3 separate regions of the Homo sapiens genome follow, and all the other regions are linked to region 2. The links are contacts of gene promoters, found by promoter capture Hi-C in human tissues and cell types (Jung and others, 2019). All regions are on one chromosome and are shown on one strand. Each heading gives the region's core, a stretch centred on a gene start or on the middle of the fragment in contact. The rest is flanking DNA. Distances are from core to core; before and after follow the strand shown.

Region 1 (3,124 bases), core at 340-2,839, 220 kb before region 2:
GGCTCACTGCAACCTCCGCCTCCCGGGTTCAAGTGATTCTCCTGCCTCAGCCTCCTGAGCAACTGGGACTACAGGCGCCTGCCACCACTCCCGGCTAATTTTTGTATTTTTAGTAGAGACGGGGTTTCACCATGTTGGCCAGGATGGTCTCGATCTCTTGACCTCATGATCCACCCTCCTCGGCCTCTCAAAATGCTGGGATTACAGGCGTGAGCCACCACGCCTAGCTAGATTACTTATAATGCCTAATATAATGCCTATGCATCACCTTGAGTGGATTCAACACAGTACTAGGTGCACAGCAAATTCAAGTTTTGCTTTTTGGAACTTTGTGTTTTTCTTCCCAAATACTGCCAATCTGAAGCTGGATCATGGGATGTGGAACTCATGGACTCAGAGGCAACTGTACTTAGTGACACGTGAAAATTACCTGAAGTTCAAATATGAATATTCATAAAGTTCTATTGGAATACAGCTAGGCTCATTCCTTTAGATACTGTCTATAGCTGTTTGGCACTACATTGGCAGAGTTGAGCAGTTCCAACGGAAATCACATGGCCTGAAAACTAAAACATTCAGTATCTGGCCCTTTCCAAGGAAATCTGCCAATTCCTGGTCTAATACCTCACTCCTCTGTGGACCTTCAAGGGCCTGGCACAGGAATCTGAGCACTGGGACACTGACTCGGCTCAGGGATTTCCTGGGAAGTGACACACAGGATCCTGCTTAAATCTGCCTTACCCAGTGGATGGTTGATGAAAGAGGGTACGCTGGTGGCTGTGAGGGTCAGCTCCTTCTCTTCGCTGCCTTCCATGGGGCCCAGCAAGAAGCGAACACGCTGTTTAGGAGCGGGAGGCTTCCTGGCATTGAGACCTGAACACACAGAGATAATATATACACACATACATACAAATATATGTACATATAAAATATTTTTTAAGAGACAGGGCCTCGTTCTGTAGCCCAGGCTGAAGTGCAATGGCGCCATCATAGCTCACTGTAACGTCAAACTCTTGGGCTCAAGCGATCCTCCTGCCTCAGCCTCCAGAGTAGCTGGGATTACAGGCGTGCACCACGATGCTGACCAGGAATATCTTGTTCTGTCCAAACACTTGGGGGATTAGACAACAGGGAAGTATGATGTAGAAGACAAAGCAGAAGCCCATGGTGCAGAGGGCAGTATAGCAGTAGTTAAGAAACAGGCGGATTCAAACAGACTCTACAACGTAGTAACCGTGTGACAAGGAACAATACTGAGTCAGTTTCCCCCTCGGAAAACAGAGGAAAGTGAGGAGTAAGAAAGCACAGAGAACAGGCGTTTGGGAAAGCGCTCTGCCCAGGTGAATAGGTCACGTGATTTTGTTTTGGGGTAAGGACCAGAAGCGGAGATGGACTTCCAAGAGAACGAGAGCGGGAACGTGGGTCTGGTTCGAGGCACTCACCCTTCAGAAGTTGTAGCTCCACTGTATCCCGCAGGTGCTTCCATTTTAGCCCCGGGGGCTTATAGACCGCGAAAAGCCCATGCAGCCGCGACAAGCCAGCAGACCCCATACTTGAAGATCACAGCACCCGCTGGACCTGGACGGAAGTACCGCCAGGCCCCGCCCCCAAATGTGGTCCTTTCCACGGGCGCCGCCATGTTCCACAGCCGGAAGAGGTTCGCATTTTATAGTCTTCGGGGAAAACCGGCTGTGGAGAAGGAAATAGGGCCCGGCGCTGAGTGAGCGTGGTTGCGTGTCCTTTGCAGACACTTTCTGGGGCGAGGTGACATGGCGAGAGTCTTGGATCGGTGGACGTAGACGGTAGACAGTTCGCGTGCGTTTCCTTCGCCTACTTGGCCTACATGCCTTCTGCCCGTGAAGCGATGTTTCCCCTCGAAAGGCCGTAGGCTACGCCGTCAGAATCGGTTTTTCAGTGAGTTTTGACCCCTCCGACGCTCCGTCGCCTGACAGAATCGCGGCGTTCTTCGTACCCGCCCATCCTCCGCGGACGCCCGCTGCCATGGCGACTCTGCTGCGCCCTGTCCTCCGTCGGCTCTGCGGGCTCCCGGGCCTACAGCGGCCTGCGGCAGGCAAGTGGCGCCGGGTTCTGGGCGCAGGCGGGAAGGAGCCTGAGGGCGCCCGGCTCCTCTGACCTCGGCCTTTTTCTTGCCCCGCAGAAATGCCCCTCCGGGCTAGGAGCGACGGCGCCGGCCCGCTATACTCGCACCACCTCCCCACCTCCCCGCTGCAGAAAGGGCTGTTGGCCGCCGGCTCCGCGGCGATGGCGCTCTATAACCCCTACCGCCACGGTAAGGCCGCCCGCGCCTCGCCCCCGTGGGGGCGGCTTGGAGCCGTTTCCTGTGGGTAACTGGAACATAGCCTAGGTCGGGGTACCCAAACCTGGTTGCAGCTCGTAACCACTCGGAACGTTTATGAAAATGCAGATTCCTGGATCCCACCTAAACGCACTGAATCTGAATCTGAATCTGCAGTGGAGGGAGAAATGGGCGTGAAACCGAAAGTCTGTCTTTAAACTACTTGGGAGAATCTGTCATGCAGCCATATTGAGAACATCTAGACTAAATAGATGATTCATAAGTACCGATCAGTTTATAATATCCTACTAGAAAGTCAACTCCGAGGTCGAGGACCATGTCTGCCTCGTTCCACTGCATCTGCAGCCTTCTGGATAGTGCCTGGCACATAGTAAATGCTCAATAAATGTTTGCTGGATGTGTGACTAGAACATTCTAGGGTTCTACAGTGTTTTTCTTATGCCTCCTAGATTTTTGAGTTCTGGGAAGTACTGTTATTCCTACTAACAAAAACAGGCTAGGCGCTATTATAGTGGCTCACGCCTATAATCCCTATCGGGGGGCCGAAGCGGGCAGATGGCTTGAGCTGAGGAGTTTGAAACCAGCCTGGGCAACACGGTGAATCCCCATCTCTACAAAAAAAAATACAAGAATTAATTGGGGCTGGTTGCATGCGGCTGTATTCCCAGGCTGAGGTGGAAGGACCATTTGAGCCGGGGAGTTCGAGACTGCAGTAAGTTGTGATTGCGCCATTGCACTCCAGCCTGGGCGACAGAGCGAGACCCTGTCTTAAACAAAAAATACACTATATCTCCATGTCCCCAGTGG
Region 2 (2,917 bases), core at 172-2,671:
CTTAAATATCATTGCCCAAACAAAAACACAAATTAGGGGCTGAGCACAGTGGCTTATGCCTATAATTATGCCTATAATTGCAGCTCTTTGGGAGGCCACAGGAGGAGGATCACTTGAGCCCAGGTGTTCAAAACCAGCCTGGGCAATATAGCAAGACCCCATCTCTACAAAAAAAAAATTAGCCAGGCATGATGGCATGCATCTATAGTCCCAGCTACTAGGGAAGCTGAGACAGGAGGATCGCTTGAGCCCAAGAGTTCAAGGCCTCGGTGAGCTATGATCGCACCACCGCGCTGCACTCCAGCCTAGGTGACAGAGTGAGACACCGTTTCCAAAAGATAGGTGTATATCATAGGTGTGATTCATGTGTCTTTCTCTCCCTGTAGAATTGAAGCTATCACAAGCTCAGGACAGATGGGCTCCTTCATACGCCTCAAGCAGTTCTTGGAGGTAAGATGCCCTTAGACCAACATGCCCCACACTGTTGTTGGGCTGGAATGCACCTATGTCTGACAAGTCTTGGACCTTCCGATGCTCTGATTGCACTCTCTTCCTTAGTTCTTCCAAACCCTTCTTTTTGTTCCTAATTCCCTCTTAACCTTTGGAGTAAGGGCTGCCATTTCCTCTTCTTTATATGTATCATTCTCTATACTGCCTGTGAGAAAGCTATGCTGAGATGAGTAAAATATATTTAGTGTATCTCCTCTCATTAATATATATTTTTTTTGCATGTTGGCCAAGGTTATTTTCTTAGTCTCAGGTCTGGGGAATTGGTAAGTGTCATCACTTTTCTCCATGAGATCAAACTGCACTTTCAGTTGGACTCTTCCCCTACTTCCAAGTGCCAAGAGATTGTAAAAGGTTAATTTTGACAAAGAATTTAGAACACTATAGTGGGTTTGCCAAGATAGCCTGCTGACTTTTCAGCTTCTCAAAGCTCGATTGTGAAAATAGTGATTGTGAAAGATGAGGTTAGCCTGTAGGGAGACAAGAGTGGGACAGGAATAATAAGAGCATTTCATTTGTTGTCTGGAGCAGATCATGCAGAAGTGGACATCTTATACAGAACCATCAGTCTTACTGGCTTTTTCCTTTTTGTTCACTGTTCCATAGGGCTGAAATATGGTGTTCCTCAAAGCTTCTTTTAACCATTAAGTGTTGGGAACACTGTTATCAGAAACTCATTCTGTTTTCTTCATCTTTCCCTGACCAGAAATGTTTGCAACACAAGGACATTCCTGTCCCCAAGGGCTTTCTGACTTCCTCCTTCTGGCGCTCCTGATGTCACTCCATCACCCACCATCACCGCTGCTGCAAAGAGGCAATAATAAAGGAACTGAAGACAGCTGTATTTGGGAGAAGTCATGTCAGATTCAGAAATTTGCCATTATGTATTTTTATGTATTTATGCCTTGTGACTAGGAGAGGAGATTTTCATGGGTCACAAAATTCTTGGAGGTCCCTTAGTAGATTTGGTAGTTCCTTAAGAGATCCACGTGATAAAATAAATGGAGTTGGCCTTTCTTGTTTTTTGCAAAAGTGATAAAAGGTCTTTAGCACTTGGTCTCCTCCCTTGTCTCTAGTGTCTTTCAGAAAGTTGGCAATACCTTAACAAATGCACTCTGAGCTGGAGGGAGCCCACCATTTGCACCCACCTACCCACCCTCACCCCTGTTCAGATGAATTTCCAGAAAGAGCTAAGGCTCATAAGGTTCCCTTTTAAGTATTATTTAATAGTTGAGGCCAGATACTTACATGCAAGTCTGGGTTATGGTTGTTTTGCCTTTCTCAGCTTGTGAAGTCATTCTAAAGCTAGAGGAAGTATGTGATATACACATGGACTAAGGCTCAGGTGACACTATGGCTAGATTAACATCTGGGATTAGGACTGGAAACACATGTCATTTTGAACTAAGGGAAACTCTTTGTCATCCTAATTTGGAATTTGGTCCCTGGATGGCTAGGGATCCATGAACCAGGCAGGTACCTTTTTTGTTTTTGTTTTGTTTTGTTTCTTTTCTGTTTGAATTAAGATGGGCTAAGATGGGGCTTGCAACATTAAACATGAGCTGAGCATCCATAAGCATTGAATTGGGATTAAATAAAGATGTTGGGCAGGAACTGAACACTGCTAATATGATGATAAATATGCCTGACTAAAGCCACTACAGAAATCCAGAGATTGGCTGTTAAAATTTGTTTTGTGGAAAGACTAATTCTCTTTGATACTGCAGAGGCAGTGGCCATGGATCTGTTCCTCTGTGCTAAATGTCTTGTGGCAGGGTGTGTTTGTGGGGGAGTGTTCACTGGTACTCTTGAGTGGCCTGAAGTGACCCATTCTATGAATTGTTAATTAAGGTGCCAAAAAAAATTAATAATAAAGCTTGGTTTTTTGAAAAACCCATTGCTGATATATTGGTTCAATATGATCAATTTCCTCTGCCTTGAGCTATGTAAATCATGATAGTATACAAGTCCAGGTATAGAGCGGTATGCATTTATTCCTTTTGGTCTTCTTGACCTACACCTTGGGAATATTACTTCTTTTTCTGTCATTTCCTTTTTTGGAATTATGTACTAATAACTGACCCTATTTTATCTAGCAAGAGATGTGAAAGTGTATTAAAATCTTTGAAAGACACAATAGGCCGTGCTTAGTGGCTCATGCCTGCAGTCCCAACACTTTGGGAGGCTGAGGTGGGAGGATTGTTTAAGTCCAGGAGTTCAAGACCAGCCTGGGCAACATAGTGAGACCCCCATGTCTAAAACAAATTTTTTTGGCCAGGCGCGGTGGCTCACGTCTTACCAGCCTGGCCAACATGGCAAAACCCTGTCTCCACTAAAATTACAAAAATTAGCTGGGCATGGTGGTGTGTGCCTGTAATCCCAGCTACCCAAGAGGCGGCTGGGGCAGGAG
Region 3 (2,905 bases), core at 360-2,859, 160 kb after region 2:
TACTGCAACCTCCACTTCCCAGGTTCAAGTGATTCTCCAGCCTCAGCCTCCCTAGTAGCTGGGATTACAGGCACCCACCACCATGCCCAGCTAATATTTTTTTTTTGTAGTTTTAGTAGAGACGGGGTTTCACCATGTTGGCCAGGCTGGTCTCGAACTCCTGACCTTGTGATCCGCCTGCCTCGGCCTCCCAAAGTGCTAGGATTACAGGCGTGAGCCACCGCGCCCAGCTGCCTTTTTAATTTTTTTTTAGCAGAGACGGGATTTCACCATGTTGGCCAGGCTGGTCTTGAACTCCTGACCTTAAGTGATCTGCCCTCCTCAGCCTCCCAAAGTGCTGGGATTACAGGCATGAGCCACCATGCCCAGCCAACCCCCATGTCAAAGAACCTACTATGTGCCAGGTGCTTCTGCTAATGTCTAGACCTCAACAACTCTAATGTGTAAATGTCACATTTCGCCTCTGATTATGAAATCTGGGCATGTTTCACAGAGCCAAGTTGCCTTTGCTTATATGTCAATGCCACTTGGGTGATTTCCCATAGCAGGACAACCCAGTGTTGTCCATGGCTCACCAATTTCACTTTTTTCCAGTCCATTATGAAGGAAGTGATTAGTGCAAAGCACAACATGTGGCTTCCTTCATTCAGTAAGAGCACCAGAGCCTGTCTGTTCCAAGTCACTGTCGGTATTTGACCCTTCATCACCTTCCCACCTCCTGGAGGACGCTCCTCCACGAAGTGCTGACACAACCTCCTGTAAACGCAGGATGCCAGGACGGGCTGAATGGCCCGCCATAGACTAGGCAGTGACCAGCACACCTCCCTTGGGCTGAAATAGTGGCGGCTATTTCACCAGGTGTAAATGGCTTTTCTCCCGTGTGGATGGATGGGCTTTTTAGGGTAAAGCCCTAAAAAGTGGCACGGGCTGAACCAGCAAGCTCAGTCTGAGTAAGAGATGGGCCGGAGAGAGGTCTGGTTCATTCATCTGTAATTTGTAATTTATCATAATTTTGGGTGAGGATTTACTTTTCCACAAGTATACGTTCTTTTTTTTTTTTTTTTTTTTTTTTTGAGATGGAGTCTCGCTCTGTCACCCAGGTTGGAGGGCAGTGGCAGGATCTCGGCTCACTGCAACCTCCGCCTACTGGGTACAAGTGATTCTCCCACCTCAGCCTCCTGAGTAGCTGGGATTACAGGCGCCCGCCACCACGACCGGCTAATTTTTGTATTTTTAGTAGAGACGGGGGTTTCACCATGTTGGCCAGGCTGGTCTCGAACTCCTGACCTCGTGATCCGTCCACCTCTGCCTCCCAAACTGCTGGGATTACAGGCGTGAGCCACCGCACCTGGCCTAGTATACATTCTTGTAGTGACTAATATCTAGTCTGGGCCAACCACTCCGAGGAGAGAGACAATTTTGGATTAGCCCACATTACACCAACAACGTGCGAGACAAAGAGAGACTTGAGGGGCTTGGTCGAGGAGGCCCAGCGCGTTAGAGGCGGGAGCCAGGTTGTAGAGGGGCTCAAAGTTAGAGGAGGCGGCCAGCTCCACCGGCTGCACCCGGCTGGGCGACCCGGCAACCTTCAGGGGGCGCTGTTTCCCCCATCCCTGTCCCTAACTGGCCGGCTCCCGCGGGCGCGCGGCGGGGAAGGCCAGAGGACCTGGGCGCGGGCGATGTGCCTCCTGAGCGTCCAAACCGGGGGTGAGGCGCGGTCACGCCCAGCGGGAACCGCAGGCGCCGAAGCCCGGGTACTGGGCCCAGAATCCCGCGGAATTTTGGATCCGAGGGAGGCGCTGGGGCGCGGGACCTCGGGCGTGGGGTCCCGGGCGCTGGATCGGCGCGGACGGGAGGCGGCGCTGGTCCCGCGGGCCAGCGGGTCTCGGGAGGGGGCGCCCGATCCCGCGTCTCCGGCGCCGCTTCCCGGGAAGTTTCAAGTTTGAAAGTCCTGGCGGAGGGTCTGCGGCTTCCGGGACCGGAGTGGCTGAGAGAAGGGCCCCAAGCGGCCGGAGCGGCGCCATGGAGGAGGGGGCGCCGCGGCAGGTGAACGGCGTGGGAGGGGCGCGCGGGCCCGGGGGGTGCGAGAAAGCCTCTGTCATCGCCCCGGAGCCCCGAACCGCGGCCGCTTCCCCCGATCCTCCCCTCACCCGCGCCCCTTCCCTGCCCCTGCCCTGGCCCCGGCCCCGCGACGCCCTCGCAGAGCAGACCTGATCTCCGGGTTCGGTGGTTCCTGGACCTTGCACAGTCTCCAAATCAGTCCGCGGCTGACCCGGAGACTGAACCCCAACCAGCCCGTGAGCGAGGACGGCTGAGTCCGCAGTGTGCGCCACCAGGGTGGTCCCCAGAGTGTCCTTAAGTCGGTTCTCCTCGGTGGGGCTCCAAGGCCGACGGGAATTAGCCGGGATAGAAAGGCGGGGCACAGGGGCCTGGGGGGGTTAGAATGTGCGCGCAGCGGGGGGCGCAGTCTGTGCGCGCTTGGCAGTGGCAGGAGTCCTTCCCGGAGCACAGGAGGCACGAGGGGAGCGTAGATGAGAGGGGAGCGGCCTCCCCCGCCCCAGGGCGGGAACCTTTGGGTACATAGCGGGTTCTAGAATGCGGAGGGGGCTGGGTTTCCTGCCAGAGCTGGCAGTAGGTGCGCGTGGGCCCGGAGGACCGAGGCCATGTCTATCTGCTCCTGAGGAGGGAGAGGTGGTGTCCTGTTCCGGAGCGAGTGGTTGGGAGGGGGGCATTTGCGGACAGGAGTGGGTCCCCGCAAAGAGCGGAAAGGAGGTGGTGTGTGTGTCCATGTTGGAGTTCCAACCCAGGGCAGACGGGACCATGGGGGTGTTGCGGGGTGCGTGTAGACTCCTTGAGCGCCCAAGCCAGTCGTTTAGGCCGCCTTCAGGGCTGGGGCTCGGTCTGC

What was found. Contacts are between HindIII fragments. The study calls those that stand out against the background at their distance.
Region 1: a contact is called between the fragment with the promoter of TRUB2 here and a fragment that was not itself captured in region 2, in 1 of the 25 tissues and cell types used here (dorsolateral prefrontal cortex).
Region 3: a contact is called between the fragment with the promoter of PKN3 here and a fragment that was not itself captured in region 2, in 1 of the 25 tissues and cell types used here (hippocampus).

What each region holds. Positions count from the first base shown.
Region 1 is chr9:128,320,858-128,323,981 of GRCh38, forward strand. It overlaps TRUB2 (TruB pseudouridine synthase family member 2), which reads right to left and starts at 1,590. Exons shown (of 8, transcript NM_015679.3): 1 at 1,443-1,590; 2 at 742-873. The coding sequence starts at 1,551. COQ4 (coenzyme Q4) reads left to right here and starts at 1,982. Exons shown (of 7, transcript NM_016035.5): 1 at 1,982-2,071; 2 at 2,159-2,290. The coding sequence starts at 2,002. RefSeq lists an enhancer at 1,290-1,829 and a silencer at 2,210-2,269. The HindIII fragment of the contact is 10,812 bases long and covers 1-3,124 here.
Region 2 is chr9:128,539,889-128,542,805 of GRCh38, forward strand. It overlaps GLE1 (GLE1 RNA export mediator), which reads left to right. Exons shown (of 16, transcript NM_001003722.2): 15 at 387-450; 16 at 1,214-2,400. The coding sequence ends at 1,282. All of the region lies in intron 2 of LOC101929270 (a long non-coding RNA gene), which reads right to left. Among named protein-coding and RNA genes, the nearest start is that of SPTAN1, 11 kb to the right of the region's middle. The HindIII fragment of the contact is 3,623 bases long and covers 1-2,917 here.
Region 3 is chr9:128,700,894-128,703,798 of GRCh38, forward strand. It overlaps PKN3 (protein kinase N3), which reads left to right and starts at 1,610. Exons shown (of 22, transcript NM_013355.5): 1 at 1,610-2,046. The coding sequence starts at 2,023. RefSeq lists a silencer at 1,503-2,072 and an enhancer at 1,887-2,426. The HindIII fragment of the contact is 13,608 bases long and covers 1-2,905 here.